Linked DNA regions of Homo sapiens: all the other regions are linked to region 6. Evidence: promoter capture Hi-C in 16 types of primary human blood cells and fetal thymus (Javierre and others, 2016). All regions are on one chromosome and are shown on one strand. Each heading gives the region's core, a stretch centred on a gene start or on the middle of the fragment in contact. The rest is flanking DNA. Distances are from core to core; before and after follow the strand shown.

Evidence for each region. Contacts are between HindIII fragments. The CHiCAGO score rates a contact against its expected background, and 5 or more counts as called.
Region 1: a contact is called between a fragment that was not itself captured here and the fragment with the promoter of GRM6 in region 6, in 7 of 17 cell types (erythroblasts, megakaryocytes, total CD8 T cells and 4 more). The highest score is 8.2, in erythroblasts.
Region 2: a fragment that was not itself captured here is called in contact with the fragment with the promoter of GRM6 in region 6 in 4 of 17 cell types (megakaryocytes, erythroblasts, endothelial precursors and 1 more); the score reaches 6.3 in megakaryocytes.
Region 3: a contact is called between a fragment that was not itself captured here and the fragment with the promoter of GRM6 in region 6, in 1 of 17 cell types (endothelial precursors). The highest score is 7.9, in endothelial precursors.
Region 4: a fragment that was not itself captured here is called in contact with the fragment with the promoter of GRM6 in region 6 in 1 of 17 cell types (endothelial precursors); the score reaches 5.1 in endothelial precursors.
Region 5: a fragment that was not itself captured here is called in contact with the fragment with the promoter of GRM6 in region 6 in 1 of 17 cell types (endothelial precursors); the score reaches 5.5 in endothelial precursors.
Region 7: a contact is called between a fragment that was not itself captured here and the fragment with the promoter of GRM6 in region 6, in 1 of 17 cell types (endothelial precursors). The highest score is 5.9, in endothelial precursors.

The regions. Positions count from the first base shown.
Region 1 is chr5:178,706,679-178,709,583 of GRCh38, reverse strand. It overlaps a transcript of MSANTD5 not described here. Among named protein-coding and RNA genes, the nearest start is that of MSANTD5, 10 kb to the right of the region's middle. The HindIII fragment of the contact is 777 bases long and covers 953-1,729 here.
Region 2 is chr5:178,688,004-178,690,872 of GRCh38, reverse strand. No RefSeq gene overlaps it. Among named protein-coding and RNA genes, the nearest start is that of MSANTD5, 8.3 kb to the left of the region's middle. The HindIII fragment of the contact is 976 bases long and covers 1,023-1,998 here.
Region 3 is chr5:179,457,310-179,460,186 of GRCh38, reverse strand. No RefSeq gene overlaps it. Among named protein-coding and RNA genes, the nearest start is that of RUFY1, 92 kb to the left of the region's middle. The HindIII fragment of the contact is 7,244 bases long and covers 1-2,877 here.
Region 4 is chr5:179,396,739-179,399,657 of GRCh38, reverse strand. No RefSeq gene overlaps it. Among named protein-coding and RNA genes, the nearest start is that of ADAMTS2, 53 kb to the right of the region's middle. The HindIII fragment of the contact is 9,996 bases long and covers 1-2,919 here.
Region 5 is chr5:179,483,427-179,486,753 of GRCh38, reverse strand. No RefSeq gene overlaps it. Among named protein-coding and RNA genes, the nearest start is that of RUFY1, 65 kb to the left of the region's middle. The HindIII fragment of the contact is 5,936 bases long and covers 1-3,327 here.
Region 6 is chr5:178,993,812-178,996,869 of GRCh38, reverse strand. GRM6 (glutamate metabotropic receptor 6) reads left to right here and starts at 1,550. Exons shown (of 11, transcript NM_000843.4): 1 at 1,550-1,594; 2 at 1,910-2,429. The coding sequence starts at 1,926. The HindIII fragment of the contact is 9,329 bases long and covers 1-3,058 here.
Region 7 is chr5:179,371,973-179,375,234 of GRCh38, reverse strand. It overlaps LOC124901149 (a long non-coding RNA gene), which reads right to left and starts at 1,804. Exons shown (of 3, transcript XR_007059083.1): 1 at 1,316-1,804; 2 at 121-324. LOC107986494 (a long non-coding RNA gene) reads left to right here. Exons shown (of 2, transcript XR_001743041.1): 2 at 1-200. The HindIII fragment of the contact is 3,219 bases long and covers 106-3,262 here.

The DNA of each region.
Region 1 (2,905 bases), core at 92-2,591, 290 kb after region 6:
AAATCTGGGCTGTTTAAATTCAAGTAATAGGTAAATGAGGGTTCCAACTCAAACAGGGACAGCATTGATGGAGAACAGGAGACAGATAATCATGTATTAGAATAAATAAGGCATGGTTTTCATAGGCAAATAGGTGAGAGTGGCAAGTGAGGAGAAAGCTGACTCACAGGTAGGGTTGCCAAACGTCCTGTATTTAATGATTTTGTCCTGAATCCTGTATTAACTTTGTTAGGATGCCTTAAATGTATTCAGGGTTTCTCCCCTCATTAATGAAAAATCAGCACTTTGAGCTACGGTTCTGCTTCAGTAATTGGCGCTTAAATCGCTTAAGTGGCAATACAAGTTGGAAATCATACCTCCACAAATAAAGATCTGAACCATCTCTTATGTTTTATCCTATGTGTTTGACTGAGGGAAGGCAAAAGGGGGAAGTGAGAATAAAAGTACTTGTTTTCCGTATTAAAGAAAGGAAAAGACTGTTCTTTTGGCCAAATTCCTAAGTTGTAAAATAATCCCCAATAATTAGATCTTTGGATCAGTACACGTGGTCTGAAAAATCAATGATGGCCTCGCTGCCAGCAGCCATGCTTCTGAAATCAACTTCCTGACAGCCTCCAGCTTCTGAATGCCACTTGAGTGCTGCTTCTAGACCACGGTTGGTCAGCAAGTCCCTCCTTCCAGTGACCGTGCTTCTGGAAGTTAGCCAGTCGACAACCGTCTAATTCCAGTGACCACACTAACACGCTTGAAAATCTAACAGTCCATAAACATCCCTGCCTCTGAAAATTCGCCAGTCCCAGACACTGAGCTGCTTAAAATTTTGGATAAGATCAGCTCTGGCTTTCTTCAGGGATCCTGTTACTGCAAACACAGTTCTCCCTTGCAGGCATGCATCAAGTTCGACTTTTCTGTGTCACATATCAAGTTCAAGTTTATTGTTAGTTTGTAAGCTTCCAACCTTTCAATAGCTCAGCCTCAATTTATTGGTAATTATGCTTCACTCTTGTGAGTGAGATGATCGAAATTAGTATTTTCAATTATTGTTATTAACTTATTTTTTATTTTATATTTTGTGTTAAGGATACTTAATATGAGATCTACCCTATTGCCTATTTTCATTTATGTATATTTGAATCAAAATGCAAGTATAAGTTTCATGATTAATTTTTAAAATATTTGGTATCAGAGAAAAGATGTTTTGAAGCTCTTTCTACAGTACACAATTGTTCATTCAGTATTGAACATATTGGAAAGTCAGATATAAGGCAGGATATACTAACAGCTAAGCCTAAGTGATAGATGATTTCCTCAAATAGTGCTAAAGAAACGGATAAAGTAACAAATTTTCCGATGAAAGGAAATTCAGATAAAAATAAAACAACCATAGCAGAAATTGTAATGACTTTCCACACTCAATCTTTTCAGCTCAAATGACCAATGGAAACACACCAAAAGTATTTCCTGCTTCCAAAATTGCAAACGAATTTTCAAGTGCCAGGATAAAATCTGCAGTAATAAAAATGTAATCTTTCTGTTTACTATTAGAGACTATATAAAAGATCTAAAATGTCTCTTTTTACAGTATAACCCCAGATGCAAATAATCACAATGAGAATTTTTTTTTTTTTTTTTTTTTTTTTTTTTTTGCCTCTGCAATGTTTTTCTTTTGAAAACCTGTGCTTATAAAGCTATCTTATCCCTTCTAGATGAGACCTGGGAAATTGAAGCTTTTTGCAGAAACTAAATTGAGTTAATAAGTCAAATTGTATTCCTTTGGTTGATATAATACAAATACAAATTTATGTAGATGTGTAGAAGTGCAAACAATTTTTTTTTTTTTTTTTGAGACGGGGTCTCGCATTGTCGCCTGGCCTGGAGTGTAATGGTAAGATCTCGGCTCACTGCAACCTCCGCCTCCCGGGTTCAAGCGATTTTCATGCCTCAGCCACCCAAGTAGCTGGGATTACAGGCACCTGCCACCATGCCCGGCTAATTTTTTTTTTTTTTTTTTTTTTTTTTTTGTATTTTTAGTGGAGATGGGGTTTCACCATGTTGGCCAGACTGGTCTCGAACTCCTGACCTCATGATCCACCCGCCTCAGCCTCCCAAAGTGCTGGGATTACAGGAGTGAGCCACCGCGCCCCGCCAGAAGTGCAAACAATTGTTATTCAAAATTAAAGCAAAGCCTGAAGTAGGCTGTAGAAGGTGTCCTATCCATATTCTGCGTTTCTGCATGATGCTACACAGACAACCTCTGATAGCCATCCTATTGACACTGAAGTCATCATGAAATTGTTCCCTTCCTCGGCATTTAAACTGTTTAAACTGAGCAGTTAAAGGACTTTTGTGATTCTGTTGTCATTCGATATTCTTCTATTCTTCATTCTTCAATTCTCTCTTTCATTCTCTAGCACTCAGAAATTTGTTGGAACCCCCAGTTTCAACTACAACATGCAAACGGCTTGGAAGTAGTCACCCCTATCCTTATAAGAAAAAGCTAGTCAAGCTGAAAAGCAGTGACTTTTATCTTTCTGAGAACTGAAGTCACAACTGTGAAATCTGGAGAGACGGGTGTATCCAGAGACACAGCTGAGATCTGTTTACTTGGAGCCCACTGGAGCCAAAACTGGTCGGAAAACTAACAGGTAATTTTGATGAATTGCTGGAGGTTGAATATGGACTAAACTGAGAATGTGGAACTTCTGGGTCCATAGTCATAACGGGTCCCGCATACCGCCACTGCCATTAGCTCCAGGAATCCCAGCAGATTCCCAAGGTCATGATCTGAGAAATATCCCCTGAGGGCTGTGGCAGAAGAAGGGGAATCATTGTGAAATACACCCAGAGTCTTCTCCATAAAAGCCGACACTCTAGGGAAAAAAAGCTTGCCAGAGTCTTATGCTAG
Region 2 (2,869 bases), core at 261-2,760, 310 kb after region 6:
CTGCACTCTGCTAATATCACACACCCTTGTTTACTATAGCTGTATAAGTTATTAAATCATATAAATTAATTCTTCCTACTTTGTTCTTTGATTGATTTTTCAAACATTGAACCAGCCTCATATCTCTGGAGTACATCAATTGTCCATCATATAATTTTTTCATCTATTATTGATGTATTAGTAATGTTTTATTAATGATTTCTGCATCAGTATTCAAGAAAGATGCTGTTTTACAGTTTTGTTGTACTGTCTTTTTCTGGTTTTGGTATCAGGATAATACTAGCTTCATAAAGTCCATTTGCAAGTGAAATAAGCTAGCCACAGGAAGATAAATACTGCATGCTCTCACTTATATGTGGAATCTAAAATAGTCAGACTCATAGAAGAGAGTAGAATGGTGGTTTCCAGGGCTGGAGGGAGGGAGAAGTGGGGGGATGGGGGGATGCTGGTCATGAGTGTAAATTTCCGGTTACTCAAGATGAGTAAGTTCTGGAGATGGAATGTACAGCATGGTGACTATAGTTAACACTATTGTATTTTATACCTGAAATTTGTTTAGAGGGTAGATCTTAAGTGTTCTCATCTTACACACACACACAAAGGTTAACTATGTGAGGCGATAAATATGTTAACTGACTTGACTATGGTGCTCATTGCACAATATATACATATATAAAAAATCAAGTTTTAAAATCGATACCTTTTTTTGAGACGCAGTCTCGCTCTGTCACCCAGGCTGGAGTGCAGTGGCGCGATCTCGGCTCACTGCAAGCTCTGCCTCCTGGGTTCACACTGTGACATGGGGCTGGAGAGTTGATCTAAACTGAGGGAGGACAGTGAAGGTGTCCCTGGCCAGCTGAAGGCAAACTGCTTCAGGTGGGCCTTCTGGACAGGGATGGAGAAAAAGGTGTGTGTCAGATCAATAGTTACATACCATGTACCAGGATATGTGTTAATTTGCTCAAGCAATGAAACAGCATCTGGTACAGCAACTGCAATTAGAGTTATCACTTGGTTAAGCTTCTGGGAATCCACCATCATTCTCCAGGATTCATCTGTCTTCTGCACAGGCCAGGAGAGTTGGACAAGGATGTGGGGTAGGAATCACCACCCCTCCATACTTCAAGTCTTTGATGATGGCACTCATCTATATCATTCCTCCAGGAAGGCAGTATTGGTGTGTTTTTTGTTTTAGTATTTTTCTAGGTAGAGATGGCTGTAACGCCTTCCATTTGTCCTTTCCCATCACAATTGCCCTCACTTTATAGCTCAGGGAACCCGTGTGGAAACTCTGCTAGCTGCTGAACACGTCTGTTCCAACTACACATCTGGACCCGGGAAATGACCAGAGAATGGGTTCCGGGACCCGCTGGGCCCACGGTGAGTTGGACCTGAGTTAAAGCTCCTGGTACCAAGATATGGAAAAACCTCTTTGACTGTCTTATTTCACTGGAAAACAGTATGGAGTTTACTCAAAAAAATTAAAAATAGAACTACCACATAATTCAACAGTGCCACTTCTGGGTATGTATCCAGGATCTGGAAGAGAGATCTGCATCTCACGTTCATTGCAGCACTATTCACAGTAGCAAAGATACGGAAACAATCTAAGTGTCCACTGACAGGTGAATGGATAAAAAGAAAACTTGACACACATACACACACAGCGGAATATTATTCAGCCACTTTAAAAAAGAAGTCCTGCCTATCAACAACATAAATGAACCTAGAGGGCACTATACTCAGTGAAGTGTGACAGAGACAGACAAATACTGTATGGTATCACTTATATATGGAATCTAAAAAGAAGAAACATTTCCAACTCATAGAAGCAGAGAGCAGAGCAACCTGGTGGTTGCCGGGAAGGGAGGTGGGGGAGGAAATGGAGAGATCTTGATCAAAGTGTACAAACTTTCAGTTATAAGATGAAGGAATTCTAAAGATCTAATGTACAGCACGGTGAGCATAGTTAATAATACTATATTTTATACTGAAGCTTGCTAAGAGAGTAGATCTGAAGTGTTCTCACCGAAAAAGGGAGGGGGTAAGTGTGGGAAGTATTGGGTAAGTGCTGTGGTTTGGATATTTGCCTCCAAATCTCATAATGTGAAATGCAATCCCCAGTGTTGAAGGTAAGGGCTAGTAGGTGTTTGGGTCATGGGCGTGGATCCCTCATTAATGGCTTGGTGCTGTCCTTGAGGTCATGAGTGAGTTCTTACTCTATTAGTTACCAAGAGATCTGATTGTTTAAAAGGGCCTGGCATCTCTCTCTTGCCTCCTCTCTTGCCATGTGACATGCCTGCTCCCTTTTTGCCTTCCACCAACAGTAAAGCCTTCCTGAGGCCTCCCCGGACTCCCAGCAGTTACTGGTGCCGTGTTAGTGCAGGCTGCAGAACTGTGGGCCAAATAACCTGTTTTCTGTATAAATTACCCATCCTCAGGTATTCCTTTACAGCCATGCGAAACAGACTAATGCAGCATGCTAATTAACTTTATCATGGTAATAACTTTATTTTATTATTTATTTACTTAGAGTCTCATTTTGTCACCCACGCTGGAGTGCAGTGGCACCATCTCAGCTAACTGCAACTTCTGCCTCCCAGGTTCAAGCAATTCTCCCATCTCAGCTTCCTGAGTAGTAGCTGGGATTAAAGGCACATGCCACCACACCTGGCTAATTTTTTGTATTTTTTTGGAGAGATGGGGTTTCGCTGTGTTGCCCAGGCTGATCTCAAACTCCTGGCCTCAAGTAATCCTCCCGCTGTGGCCTCCCAAAGTGCCGGGATTACAGGTGTGAGCCACCAGGGCTGGCCAGGGTAATCATTTTAAAGTGTTAACATATGTGAAATCATCAGTTGTACACCTTAAA
Region 3 (2,877 bases), core at 227-2,726, 460 kb before region 6:
GGTGCTTTAACAATAGCAAGGGGTGCATGTATTTGGGTTGCCTGGTCCAGGCTCCTTCCCCATTGGTAATCCACAGTGTTTATTCCCTGGTTCGCTGCCCATGGGGGCTGCCTCCTGACGCTGTTGGGGAAAGGAGGAGGAGGTCCCGGCTTGCACACAGATTCCCTGTTTCTCAAGAATATACAGCATGCTCTCCCACTGTGCAGCCAAGGACAAGGTGTTCTGTGCGGCGCCACGGGGCAGTCTCTGTTTCTGCAGGCTGCCCAAGAGGGGCCGGGGAAGTGATAAGTGAAAATCCATCACAACTTCTAGAACCAGCTCCAAGGACACACTCAGCGGCTGGGGCACCAGCAGGACTCGGTAAAACTCAGCAATGCTTCAGCACAATGATTACATTTCAGCCCCATAGTCCTCGCTGGGGAAGGGCTTTGGAGGACAGCTTACAAAAAGCCTGAGGACTGTTGGAAAGGAATTTTCGTAGGGGGAGGAGAAGGGGAAGGAAACTTGGGCTTTGCCTGAAACCCAGTGGACCAGGTTTCTCCCCTCTGTGGAGTGTCCGAGTAGTGGGCGCATCCCCGGGGGTTTATTTTCTTTGTTTGAACAAACCACGAGCAAACATGGCAAGTGGTCCTGGGGGTGCGGAGAGTGTAAGTCAGTGTGTTTTACACAGGTTTATGTATTGTATTATACAAGGGATGTTGGTCTACACCAATAAAAAGCCTTTGAATTTGAGGAATTTCCATTTGATTCATTTTCCCCAAATCTTCGCAAGAGGAGGATGATTTTTGCAAAAGGGGGATGAACAGAAAGGTTATTCCATTAGTCATTTTTCTCCTTATTAGAGTATTGGGTTTCATCTCCGAGAATGAGCGGCACACGCCCTGGGACTCAGGTATGTTGGGATGTCGAGAACCCCTTTGCAAGAGGCACCAAGGAGATTTGGTGGGAAAAATGAATCCTCCCTCTAACATGAAACTTCCTCTGCTCTGGTTTCTCTTATAAGTTTGATATAATTTGCTGTTTTCCAGAAATCCTCAAAATATATGGCTCACCAAGAGCATGATTCTCATATCCCCATGCAGCTGGGGGAACTTATTCCCTCGAAAGTGATGTATTATCTGGCCATTTCTTAGCTATTTGGGGAGTGAAGGATATGATACAAATATGGTCCCTCATCATGAATTGGACATCTCTGAATCATTTAGCTTTTTTTTTTTTTTTTTTTTTGAGACGGAGTCTTGCTCTGTCACCCAGGCTGGAGTGCAGTGGCGTGATCTCGGCTCACTGCAAGCTCCACCTCCTGGGTTCACACCATTCTCCTGCCTCAGCCTCCCAAGTAGAGGGGACTACAGGCACCCGCCACCACACCCGGCTAATTTTTTTGTATTTTTAGTAGAGACAGGGTTTCACTGTGTTAACCAGGATGGTCTCGATCTCCTGACCTTGTGATCTGCCTGCCTTGGCCTCCCAAAGTGCTGGGATTACAGGCGTGAGCCACCATGCCTGGTCTGAATCATTTAGTTTTAAAAATTTGATCCATCAGGACTTTGAGTGAAAGGAGTATAGCTGTGACCTGGCATTAATAATAATAATAGGCCAGGCACTGTGGCTCACGCCTGTAATCCCAGCACTTTGGGAGGCCAAGGCAGATGGATCACCTGAGGTCGAGAGATCGAGCACAGCCTGGCCAACATGGTGAAACTCCATCTCCACTAAAAATACAACAATTAGTCAGGCGTGGTGGCACGCACCTGTAATCCCAGCTACTTGGGAGGGTGAGGCAGGAGAATTGCTTGAACCCAGGAGGTGGAGGTTGCAGTGATCCTAGATTGTGCCACTGCACTCCAGTCTGGGCGACAAGAGCAAAACTCCACCTCAAATAATAATAATAGTAATAATAATAAATCATTAACCAATCAACTTTGTAGTCTTCTCAATGCTCTTTATTGAAAGATCTATGTTTGGCCAGGCGCAGTGGCTCACGCTTGTAATCCCAGCACTTTGGGAAGCCGAGGTGGGCGGATCACCAGGTCAGGAGATTGACACCATCCTGGCTAACATGGTGAAACCCCGCCTCTACTAAAAATACAAAAAAAGTAGCCAGACATGGTGGCGAGCGCCTGTAGTCCCAGCTACTCGGGAGGCTGAGGCAGGAGAATGGCGTGAACCCGGGAGGCGGAGCTTGCAGTGAGCCAATATCGTGCCACTGCACTCCAGCCTGGGTGAGACTCCATCTCAAAAAAAAAAAAAAAAAAAAGAAAGATCTATGTTTGCCCACTGATTTGACATTCCTCCCCCGTTGTGTACTAAATCCCCGTTTATACTTAGCCTATTTTGGAACTCCGTCTTCTGTCCCGGGCCCTCCCTCTCAGCAGCGGGGCCACTCCCTGGAAGGGAGTGCTGGTCCTGCTCTGTTACTTCTCTTTTTCAGAAATTTCCTGGATCTAACTCTGTTTTCATTCTGATACGTTGACATTTAAGTCTCTTACCCTTCCAAAAAAGCAAAAACAAGAGGAAAAAAATAGAAAACACTATCTTAAACCAAACAAAAAACCAACCAACCAACTGAACAACAAGTCAAAGCACAAAACCTCAAACCCAAACAAACCTTTTTAGGACTTTGATCAGGATCGAATTAACCTTGTAGCCAACATGGGAAGAACTGAGATCCTTATTAGTGTGCTAAGACTGCCGTAACAAATGACCGCAAACTGCGCGTCTGAAGACAGTAAGAATGTATTTTCTCACAGTTCTGGAGGCTGGAGTCCAACGTGAAGGTACTGGAAGCCCATGGTCTTTCTGAAGGTCCTAGGGGTGAATCTGGTCCATGCCTTTCTCTTGGCTTCTGATTTTGCCGGCAACCCTTGGTGTTTTCTG
Region 4 (2,919 bases), core at 218-2,717, 400 kb before region 6:
CAAGTCTCTAGGAAGTTCCACACTTTCCCATATCTTTCTGTCTTCTTCTGAGCCCTCCAAACTGTTCCAACCTCTGCCTGTTACCCAGTTCCAAAGTCAATGCCACATTTTCGGGTATCTTTTCAGCTGCACCCCACTCCCAGTACCAATTTACTGTATTAGTTTGTTCTCACGCTGCTATAAAGAACTGCCCAAGACTGGGTAATTTATAAAGGAAAGAGGTTTAATTGACTCACAGTTCTGCATGGCTGGGGAGGCCTCTGGAAACTTACAATCATGGTATAAAGGGAGGCAAACAGGTCCTTCTTTACATGGTGGCAGGAGAGAGAAGTGCCAGCAGGGGAAATATCAGATGCTTATAAAATCATCAGATATCATGAGAACTCACTCACTATCATGAGAACGGCACAGGGAAAACCACCCCCATGATTCAATTACCTGTGACCATGTCCCTCCCACAACACGTGGGGATTATGGGAACTATAATTCAAGATGAGATTTGGGTGGGGACACAGCCAAACCATATCAGGCCCCATTTCTGTCACTACAGCAGCATAAGATGGAGCTGCATGGAGCATGCCTTGTTTGTTCAGATGATGCTTGACTCACAAGCCTGGGAGCCTGAGGTACCAAGCCTGAGGCTGAGGGGGGGTCACCCTATTGCATCTGTGGCAGGCCACACCAGTCACCTTCATTTGGACCAAATAAGGAGTTGGAGCAGATGGTAATTGGTGTCTCCCTCCATTCCCTTCCCTTCCCTTCTTCCTTCCTTCTGTCATTCCCTCTCTCTGTCTTTCTCTTTCTTTTTTTCTTTATCCCTGCACCCCAATAAAGAACCTTAAAAATGAAAGTGTCTGTCCTAAGAGCACATAATGCAACTGGCCCACATGTACATGGTCAGAAGGATTGGGGGACTGACCTTCACCCCATTTGATTCTCTAGCTCAGTTTGCAAACTGGTAGTGTGTGAGTCACATTCAGTCAACAAACATGCTTTATTTGGCCTATATGATTTTTTTTTTTTTTTTTTTTTGAGACAGAGTCTCGCTCTGTCCCCCAGGCTGGAGTGCAGTGGTGTGATCTCGGCTCACTGCAAGCTCTGCTTCCTGGTTCACGCCATTCTCCTGCCTCAGCCTCTTGAGTAGCCGGGACTACAGGTGCCCGCCACCATGCCTGGCTAAGTTTTTAGTAGAAACGGGGTTTCACTGTGTTAACCAGGATGGTCTCAATCTCCTGACCTTGTGATCTGCCTGCCTCGGCCTCCCAAAGTGCTGGGATTACAGGCATGAGCCACCACTCCTGGCCTTTTTTTTTTTTTTGAGACAGAGTCTCACTGTGTTGCCCAGGCTGGAGTGCAGTGGCACCATCTTGGCTCACTGCAAGCTCCACCTCCCAGGTTCAAGCCATTCTCCTGCCTTAGCCTCCCGAGTTGCTGGGACTACAGGCACCCGCCACCATGCCTGGCTAGGTTTTTTTTTTTTTTTTTTGTATTTTTAGTACAGACAGGGTTTCACCATGTTAGCCAGGATGGTATCTATCTCCTGACCTTGTGATCCGCCCACCTCGGCCTCCCAAAGTGCTGGGATTACAGGCGTAAGCCACTGCACCTGGCCTATGATGTTTTTAAAAATCAAGTATATTAGGATATAGTTTACATGTAATAAAATGCATTGATTTTTAAGTGCACAGTTCAGTGAGTTATTATATATGTATACACACACACACACACACACACACACACACACATATATATATATATATATAATTAGTCTGTTTTCATGCTGCTGATAAAGACATACCTGAGACTGGGAAGTAAAAGTTGTTTAATTGGACTTATAGTTCTACATGGCTGGGGAGGCCTCAGAATCATGGGGGGAGGTGAAAGGCACTTCTTACATCGTGGTGGCAAGAGAAAATGAGGAAGAAGCAAAAAGCAGAAACCCTTGATAAACCCAACAGATCTCATGAGGCTTATTCACTATCACAAGAATAGCACAGGAAAGACCAGCCCCCATGATTCACATACCTCCCCCTGGGTCCCTCGTACAATACGTGGGAATTCTGGGAGATACAATTCAAGTTGAAATTTGGGTGGGGACATAGCCAAACCATATATATATATATATATATATATATATATATATATATATATATATATATATATATATACACTATAAACATACACACTTATGTAACCACCACCTCAATCAAGATAAAGAAACCTCCCTCATCCAGGAAGCTACCTGTGCCACTTCCCAGTCTATTCTCCTCCCTGGCAGCAGAACTGATTCCTGGGACATCGACCACTCCAGCTCAGTGCCCCCTGACTCAGAACGTCATGGAAATGGACCCTAGAGTACTCTTTGTGCCTGGCTTCTGTCACTCAACATAATGTCTGTCATCTGGGTTGCATGCCACATTTTTTTATTGCTTATAATTATTCCTCTGTATAAAAATGCCACAATTTATCTGTTTAAATGATGACAGACATTTGTATTATTTCCAGTTTTTGGCTATTATGAATAAAGCTCATATGAAAATTCTTGTGCATGTATCTTTATGAACACATGCTTTCATTTTCCTTGGTTAAATACCTAGGGGTAGATTGCTGGCTCATAGAGGGGGTGTGTTCAATTTCTTAAGAAATTGTCAAACTGTTTCTTGAAATGTTTGCACCATTTTCCACTCCACGCATTGTATGACAGTATCAATTGCTGTATATCCTCTCCAATATTTGGTATTTTCAGTCTTTTAAATTTTAGCCATCCTGGTCGGTATGTGGTGATAATTCTTCATTGTTTTCACTTGAATTTCACTGATGAACATGTTGAACATCTTTTCATGTCCTTATTGGCCATTCATGTATCTTTTTTCATGGAATGTCGGTTCAAATATTTTGCCCATTAAAAAAAATTGAGTT
Region 5 (3,327 bases), core at 21-2,520, 490 kb before region 6:
TGTGTTCGTCTGGCTCCTCAAGCAGCGATGCTGTGTGCGGTTTCCATGGCAGTGGGCCCCGGAGGGCAGCCGGGGACACAGCCAGGTGGCTCGCAGCTCACCTGACTGGCTGTTGGCAGGAGGCAGGCGGCCTCCTTCTGCTCCTCTGTTCCTGGAGCTTTCAGAATGTCTTCAGTTACTCCCTTTAGGAGTCTGATCTCTGTGTGAGAGAAACTTAAAGTTCTGGGCTTATAAAGGGTACACTTTATCTCCGAGCGATTGCCTGGCAGTCATGCAGAATGCCAGGGCGGAAAAGTACCGGGAAAGCGCACATCTCTGCAAGGGAGGCTGGAACTCAGGGGCCCAGCTTCCCACGGTGGGCAGCAAGAGCACGCTTTGCACAGAGGAAAGACAGGCTCCGCCTGCAAGGGCCACAGGATGACCTTCACAGGGCCATTGGCACCCGGCCCTTGGGGCTCAGGGTCTGGCATCTTTGATTCATGAACTCAAGAAAACTGTGTGGGTCAGAGTTGCCTCCTGCAGCACACAACTGCTGGCTTACTCACTGTCTTCGCTCCAGGGAGGACTCATCACAGGGTTATTAGGAATCCAGAATCTAGTGGGGGAAACAAAAGCTCTCAAACAGAGAAGAAGTCAAAGTCAGGTCCAAGTTCACGTTGAGCCTTTTCAGCAAGTGCTTCCTGCTCCAAGTTGTAGGCTGTGGCTGCTGAGCTCCCAGCCTGGGGTACTGGGCAAGCCAGGCATGGGGCTCGGCCCTCAGGGTGGGTTCTGGCAGACCACAGGCTTTATGCGAGGAGCTAACACTTAAAAGAATTGCTTGACAGGGATGGAGAGAAAGGCCTGGGGCCAAGGACTCAGGCTCTGTCTCCAGAAATGAAGATGTTCCAGCAGTTTCCATCCAATAGAGACATGAATGTTGGGTCCGCTGGAACACGAGACAGAGCAAAGCTCTTCCTATCTGCTTAGGACCCTAAAGAAATGGCCCTGGGGCCACCTGTTCTTCTAGACTTGTTGAAGGATCAACAGCGGAGTGAAACATATTTTAGTATCAAGCACCACCGGGAAACAAAAAATAAAACTCACTGGGCCGGGCGCGGGGTCTCACGCCTGTAATCCCAGCACTGTGGGAGGCTGAGGCGGGCGGATCACGAGGTCAGGAGATCAAGACCAGCCTGGCTAACAGGGTGAAACCCCGTCTCTACTAAAAATACAAAAAATTAGCTGGGCGTGGTGGCGGGCGCCTGTAGTCCCAGCTACTCGGGAGGCAGAGGCAGGAGAATGGCGTGAACCTGGGAGGTGGGGCTTGCAGTGAGCGGTGATCACGCCACTGCACTCCAGCCTGAGTGACAGAGCGAGACTCCATCTCAAAAAAATAAAAAAAATAAAAATAAATAAAACTCACTTGAAGACCACACACGAGACAAAAGCAGATTTCGTTTTCTTAAGGGGCAACATCTTTTTTGCGCTAATCACCTACCATTAAATCATGAACAAAGACAGTGAAATTCCTGTTGGTAACCCCCAAACTAATTAAGTACATTTCTTGGGTTCTGTATTATGAGCAGTTAGAGGAGACGGAGAGGGAGGGGTAAGTCCATTCAATCGCACTGCAGGAAAACAGTTTTGAAGTACTTACTAGGTTTTAGGTTCCAAAGTAGGAACTGAGAGACCTAGCCCATGTCCCCAGTGGCTGGGGTTTGCTGGGCATTCAGGAAAGCAAGCGGCCAGCCAGTAGGTAGATGGAGGCCCAATGCCCTGGTCCTGGGGCAGCGGCTGGAATGAGAGGGCCGGCCGGCATGGGGGTGTGGACTCCATGTTGCCCACAGAAGAGGCCTTTAAACAGGACAGATGGGATTCTCAGAGACCACCCTGGCTGGTGGCTGGGGCAGGGGAGATGAGACTGTCATGGAGACAGAGAATCTAGTGAGACGTCTGCAGTGGAAAGCCAGAGGGCAAACAGTGGAGGTGTGAGTGGAGGGTGGGTGCGAATTCTCAAAACCCCTGGGCTGGCCCAATGCCTGGGTATAGGAGGAGAGAGAGGGAGGAGCCTGGCCAGACTCCGCAGCTTCTGGCCTGGGCAGCAGCAAGGAAGACCATGCCATTCACCAGGATGAGGACTGGGAGGGCGCCTCGGGGGGTGTGTTGGTGTAGGATAGTGGGAAAGAGAATGATGAGTTTGAATTTAATTGATTTTATTAGGTAGTGTATTGGTCAGGGCTCTACCACAGAAACAGAAGCAGTATGTATATCCATATATACAGAGAGAGAGAGATGCATTGCAAGGAACTGGCTTCCCCAAAGGTGGGGCTGTCAGGGCAAGTCAGGAATCCGTAGGCCAGGGCACTGGAAGGGCAGGCGGGAACTCTCTGGCAGGCGCCGACGCTGCAGTCCAGACAGGGTTTCTCCTTCCTCAGGGAAGCCTCAGTTCTGCTCAAGGCCTTTCATCCTATTGGATGAGGCTGACCCAGGTTACCAAGGATAATCTCCTTTTCTTAAAATTGGCTGACTGCAGACGTGATTTGCATCTACAAAATGCCTTACAGAACACCTAGGCTAGTGTTGAGTTTGTTAGAATCAATTAAAATGAAGACCAGGTCTGAAGAATCCTTGAGCAGACAAAGCCAGTTAGGCCTATATGCGACCTTCACCTTGTTTGATTTGCAAACATAAGTGAAACTTAACTTGAGCTATTTCTTATAAATGTCTATGTTAAAGAGAAACAGAACTTAAGCTCAACTAGTCAGAATCAGCCAAAAAACTTCTCATTATATAACTAAGGACTTTCCAGTGGGATAGACCAAATAAGGCAACTTATAATTATAACCAATTAAATATTTTCTCAGCATCTCTTCCACATTTACCCTAAAACATCTGTGCCTCTGCGTCCTCAGTGCAACCCTCCAACCACCTCTGGTTTGGAGCTGCCTGATTCGTGAATCACTCTTTGCTCAAATAAACTCTTTAACATTTTATTGTCTTGGTTTACTTTTTTAACAGATTAAATAACCGAGTACTATTGTCTAGCCAAGTTGACACCTAAAGCTGACCATCGTGGCCAGGTGCCGTGGCTCACATCTGTAATCCCAGCACTCTGGGAGGCTGAGGTGAGAGGATCACTTGAGCCCAGGAGTTCAAGACCAGCCTGGGGAACACGGCAAAACCCCGTCCCTACAAAGCATGATTAGCTGCATGTGGCGGTGCATACCTGTAGTCACAGCTACTTGGGAGGCTGGAGTAGGAGGATTGCTTGAGCCCAGAGCAAGGCCTCCCCCCCCCCCCCTTTTTTTTTTTTTTGAGATGGAGTCTCGCTCTGTTGCCCAGGCTGGA
Region 6 (3,058 bases), core at 301-2,800:
CCCTTCTCCTCCAGCCCCCTGCTCACAGGTGTGCATGCCTCCCTCCTACACGGCGAGGACCCCCTGCCAGTCCCCCAGCTGCTGCCCCCGCTTCCTGATGGTCTGTCCTCCAGACAGGGGCAGTGGCTGCCTTGGTCATGCCAAGCAGGAGGCTGCTGTGTGCTGGGAGCTGTCAGGCTCGTCCTGAACAGGGAAGGGCCCATCCACCTCCCAAACCCAGTTTATGCAGTCCTTCGCAATGTCAGGCTCAGGGCCTGGCACCAGCCAAGCTCCCCACCCTTCCCACTGTTAAAATGGATAGGAGCAGGGCTAGGCCCAGCCTGTTGACTCTGGGCTTCCACCAGGAGAAGTGGTTCTGGCAGTAGAAACTATCGGGGCCTGGGAGAGGCGGGGGAAGAGAGAAAGGTGGCATGTTTCTTGCTTGCTCCCTCTACCAGCCTTGTCCAAATCCCCGCAGCCACCCTAATCCAGCCTGTCTAATGGAGCCCAAGCCGGCTCAGGCCCTCGGACGAGGAGCCTGCTAATCCCTGTGGCTAGGAGCTCACCACCTGTCTCCAGGACGCCCTTTGCTCTCTTGGCATCAGAGAGCCAAATCCTGGGCCTCGGATGGGGGGATGATAAAAGCATCTTTTGGCCAAGCCCCCTCACCTTGGCCTCCACGATGAGATGGGGAGTTAGGTGCAGAGAGCGTTGGCACAGTGAGCACCGCAGCTCGAGTGGCTGCCTCAGACCCAGAGCCCGAGGAGACTTTATACGGAGCCAGAACGACCCCGCGGGGTTCCATCCTCCCAAGCAATAGGCGGGAGTGGGAGCTGCGAGGAAAGCCGGCCCCTCCCCTCCCTCCATCCAAGGCAGTGTGGGCTGTTTGTTTCATGCCATTCTGGGTGTGAATCCTGATGCCCACACATGCCAGCTGCATGCACTTGGGCAACTCAACTCACTCCTCGAGGGCTGTTTCTCGACTGCAGGGTGTTGTAAGTTCGCTAATACTAAAGGCTTCTCCCTCCTGGCCCCTTCCTGCCCCTCGCTCTTCCTCCTCTTCCTTAGGCCCTCCCAGCTCAGGCAGCCCCTGCCCCCTGCAGGGTTCTGCAAGGAGAAAGCTGGGGAATACCTTAGGCAACTGCAGTCAGGAGCACTGGTGGCCAGGACAGAGACAGAGAGACAGAAAAGGGGTCAGGGACAGAGAGAGATAACCGCAGGGAGAGACAGGAAGGGACAGAGACAGAAAAGATTTCCAAGAAGAGGACAGAGGCAGAAAGCCAGGGACAGAGACTGAGAAACAGAGACCTAGAGGCAGAAGAAGACTGAGATAGAGATGGACAGAGATTGTGTCAGACACAGCCCCAGAGACAGCCAGACAGTCTGAGTCAGACGCAAACCAAAGACAAGAAAACAGGAAAACAGACCCAGAGATTGGGAGAGGGAGGGGAAGGAGATGCGGGGAGAGCCAGCACCGCCACCCCCCACACTCAGGAGGGGTCTCCACCCTCGGAGCGGTCTCTCATCCCTCCCTAGAATCCTTAAATCCTCTCTCGCTCAGGGCCTCGGCCGCATCTGTCACAGACTTGTCCTGAACCGACAGCGGCTGGCGCAGGTGACTGGCTTGGGGCGGGAGCCTGGGTGTGCGCTGGGGATGGACCCCGAGGAAGAGGGGCCAAGCTGTCGGGAAGCGGCAGGGCTGGAGGGGTGGAGGCAGTGGTCGGGCGGGACCCCGGGCGACAGGGTTCGGCGCTTGTAAGAGCGAGACGGAGGCCCGGGCAGGCCGGCTGAGCTAACTCCCCAGAGCCGAAGTGGAAGGCGCGCCCCGAGCGCCTTCTCCCCAGGACCCCGGTGTCCCTCCCCGCGCCCCGAGCCCGCGCTCTCCTTCCCCCGCCCTCAGAGCGCTCCCCGCCCCTCTGTCTCCCCGCAGCCCGCTAGACGAGCCGATGGCGCGGCCCCGGAGAGCCCGGGAGCCGCTGCTCGTGGCGCTGCTGCCGCTGGCGTGGCTGGCGCAGGCGGGCCTGGCGCGCGCGGCGGGCTCTGTGCGCCTGGCGGGCGGCCTGACGCTGGGCGGCCTGTTCCCGGTGCACGCGCGGGGCGCGGCGGGCCGGGCGTGCGGGCAGCTGAAGAAGGAGCAGGGCGTGCACCGGCTGGAGGCCATGCTGTACGCGCTGGACCGCGTCAACGCCGACCCCGAGCTGCTGCCCGGCGTGCGCCTGGGCGCGCGGCTGCTGGACACCTGCTCGCGGGACACCTACGCGCTGGAGCAGGCGCTGAGCTTCGTGCAGGCGCTGATCCGCGGCCGCGGCGACGGCGACGAGGTGGGCGTGCGCTGCCCGGGAGGCGTCCCTCCGCTGCGCCCCGCGCCCCCCGAGCGCGTCGTGGCCGTCGTGGGCGCCTCGGCCAGCTCCGTCTCCATCATGGTCGCCAACGTGCTGCGCCTGTTTGCGGTGAGGGCCGCGGGGCCGGGCTCGGTGTCCAGCGTCCCTCTCCCGTCCTCGCCCTGGGGTGGCCCAAGTCTCCTTCCTTTACTTCTTCTGAAAGAGTCTCCGTTTTAATCACTCGAATTCACACAGCGTCAAAGAAGCCCTGTCAGTTGAGCCCGACGCAGGCCTGAATCGGCTCCACCCAAACACTCCAGCCGCCCATGTCTACCCCGCCCCGCGAGGGCGCCCCTTCCCGGGCGGGTGCCACCTACGCCTCTGGCCGGTTGGCTGGGGAGGGCGGCCTGACTTCAGCCCCCATTTGCCAGCCTGCTCGGGTGCCCTTGTTCTGGGCACACCCCTGCAACCATACAAGGTGCTCCTGCCCCCTGGGCCTGCGGAGCGCTCGAGTGATATTGCAACTTTGAGTTTTGTTTGGAACCCGGGCCCTTCTTCCAGAGCAGCAACTGGGGCGTGTCCCTGGGCTGCTATGGGGGATGGATAGGCCTGAAAGGTCTGGTCTTTCTCTTTTTTGATCATTTAAATTTATTTTCAAAATGCCTTGAACTCTCCCTCAAGGGGCATCTGAGAGCAGGGCGGGGCGTTCCCTTCTGAGCTCTGGTCTCCTGCACCCTGCCCTGCGCAGGTGCCCGGGC
Region 7 (3,262 bases), core at 466-2,965, 380 kb before region 6:
TGAGATCTGATTGTTAGAAAGAGCCTAGGTAGCTCCTCTCTCTTGCTCCATCTGTCACTGTGGGACACCTCTGCTACCCTTCCCCTCCCACCAGGAGGGTAAGCTTCCTGAGGCCCTGACCCCAAGCAGATGCTGCTGCCATGCCTCCGGTACTGCCTGCAGAACTGTGGACCAAATAAACCTCTCTTCTTTATAAACGGCCCAGTCTCCGGCGTTCTTTTATGGCAACGCAAAACGTATAAGCACAATCTTGTGGAGAAACTTCCCTACCACGGCGGCCTTGGCAGTCGGTCCTGCTCCTGATGAGGTGATAGAGAACAGCACCTGAGATGATTAGAGGAGAGGGCCCTGACATCCTCTGTGCCCTCTGCCCTGGCATCCTCTGTGCCCTCTGCCCTGACATCCTGAGTCCTCTGCCCCGACGTCCTCTGTGCCCTCTGCCCCAACGTCCTCCGTGCCCTCTGCCCCGACGTCCTCTGAGTCCTCTGCCCTGACGTCCTGCGTGCTCTCTGCCCCAATGTCCTCTGAGTCCTCTGCCCCGACGTCCTCCGTGCCCTCTGCCCCGACGTCCTCTGTGCTCTCTGCCCCGATGTCCTCTGAGCTCTCTGCCCTGATGTCCTCTGAGTCCTCTGCCCCGACGTCCTCCGTGCCCTCTGTCCCGACGTCCTCTGTGCCTTCTGCCCTGACGTCCTCCAAGTCCTCTGCCCCAACGTCCTCCGTGCCCTCTGCCCTGACGTCCTCTGAGTCCTCTGCACCGACGTCCTCTGTGCCCTCTGCCCCAACGCCCTCTGAGTCCTCTGCCCTGACGTCCTCCTTGCTCTCTGCCCTGACGTACTCTGTGCTCTCTGCCCTGACGTCCTCCAAGTCCTCTGCCCTGACGTCCTCCAAGTCCTCTGCCCGGACGTCCTCCGTGCCCTCTGACCTGAAGTCGGGGCCGCCTGACTGGACCATGACTCTCCACCTATGCCTGGCTGCCGAACAGCGTGAGGGCACTTCTGAGGGGGCAGAGAGTCCCTTGATGGGCCTGCCGCAGCCCTGGGCCTGGTGTGTCTCCCTTTGTCCCTGCTGGCCTCATCCATCTGACTGCATGCCTTCTGTACCCTGTGTCCTGGCTCCCTGCCTCGGCCCCTCTCTTGCAGTGGGACAGGGCACACACCCTGGACCCCGACGCTGATTGGCTGGGTGCAGACCTCGTACCCCAACACCCACAGCCCTGCCCTGTTCCCAGCTCCCAGAACACACCCTGGTCTCCTTCCTAGGGATTGAGACTCAGAATATGCAGCGTCCTCGTGAGCCACCTAGATGTCCTACTCACCCAGGCCTGTGGGGCCCTGCTCTCAGGCACCCCTTGCCAGGGTGTCCTCCTGTGTGAAGGAGCCTGCCTGCTTGGGGTGTGGAGCCACCCCAGGCTCCAGCTTGTGAGCTGGTCCATGAAAATTTGGTGCCTTCCTGGAGAGAGAAGCCTGCCGGCTTGGTAAGTGGGCTCAATCATGTGTTCCCTGGGGAGCCCTCCAGAGTCTGTCTGAATTGGAGAGGGAGCTCAGGTTATGGGAACCCATCTTGGCGGCCTGGCAGAGCCGTGGGCGTTTGAATTAGGATTCTTGGCTGCAACTGTCAGAAGCTGGCTCAGACCAGCTGACGGGCTCTTAGAACCAAACTGTTGCTGCGTCCAAGGGGCCCCGGCAGTAGGCGCAGCATGTCCAGACCCTCTCTCGTCCACTTCTGGGGCCTGGCCCAGGCCAGCTTCTTCCCCTCTAGGCTCCCGACAGTGGCAGACCCTCGCTTCAGAGCCGCTCCTCCAAGAGGAAATGTGCCTCAAGCCTTAGGTCCAGTCGGAAAGCACTGGGGAAGGATGCTGATTGGTCCGGCTTGGGCCGAACGTCCAATCCTGCCGCAGGAGGTGAGGCACTGCATTTGATTGACAGCTCTCCGCCCTACCACTGCGAGAGTGCGCAGCGTCCCAAAGAGGGCGAGGGGTGGTGTGGACAGCTCTGTCCCTTATCGAGGGGGAGCACTGAGGTTCCTGGCATGTGGTCGAGACCCTCCTCACAGCTGTTCAGGTGTGGGACGGGAAGACAAAGAAGACCACTGGTCTCACAATTTGGGACACAGCAGAAGCCCACGCTCCTGGTGCCGGCGTTGACATGTGCTAGCAATGACGGTGCCCCCATAATGGACAGGCCCTGTGCCAGGCGCTTTAAATGAACAATACCGAATAGGCCTGAACCTTCCCACAGGTATGACTATTCCTATTTTTAATAGGAGGAAACTGAGGCTCAGAGACTTAAAGTGACTGTAAGAGGCCAAAAAATTACCAGCCTGGCAGAGCTATAGCTGAGTCAGGGTCTGCCCAGCTCCAAAACCTGGGCCCTTCCTCCAAAAACGCTGCCACCCACAGACAAGGCCAAATAGAAAGAGAAGACTCTTCAAAATACAATGTGATGGAAACAAAACAACACACCGTAAATGTAAAACAAGAAAAATATGCCAGATGAAATGAGCCAACAGCTTCCTCAATCAATGGGCGAGATAAAACAGGAAAGGAGCTACAAAGATTTCTGAAAAGTTAAAAGTCGGGGAGTAAAGAGCACTAGCAACGGAGCAAACAAGGCCAAGGAAACTGAAATAGGGGACCTGAACATACGTGAGCCCAGAGCCTCGGGAAGGGCTGGAGCTGTGCGGTCTCCGGGAGTCTGGAGCTGGGCTCCGGCCTCCTGCTCCCCTTCCCCGGGGCCCAGGGCTGGCAGCCCCACACTGGCAAGGGGCTCAAGGAAGTTCTCACAGCCCGCCAGGATCCCTGGCTCTGGAATTGGGCACCCTGACCACACAAGCTGATGACACAGGGAGCGGATACACTGGGCTCTTGCCCAGGTCTGGGTTCAGTGCCCACTTCTGTAGCTGATCTAGGTGAATGAGGATGATGCTTTCCTGGTTCAACTACTTGGCATCTCCATGAAGGATCCTGCACATGCATCTGCTTACAGACTCCTGTCAAATCATAACTGCTCACATGGCAGACAGGCTCCCTGCAGTTTTCCCTGATCTAAGAGGATTAACTAGGAGGGCAGCAGACCTGGGGGCCTGTGGTGGTGGGTGGGGTCTTTAACCTGGATCCCATTCTCAGCCTCCCCCACAGGGGTCTGTCTCTGGCCCAGGAGGCCTGCCCAGCCCATACCAGCCTGGGTGGAGGCTGCAGGTTCAGTGGCTCCTGAGTCAAGCTGGGACTAGCTGGGCTGTGGTGTCTGGGAGCAGTATCTTCTCA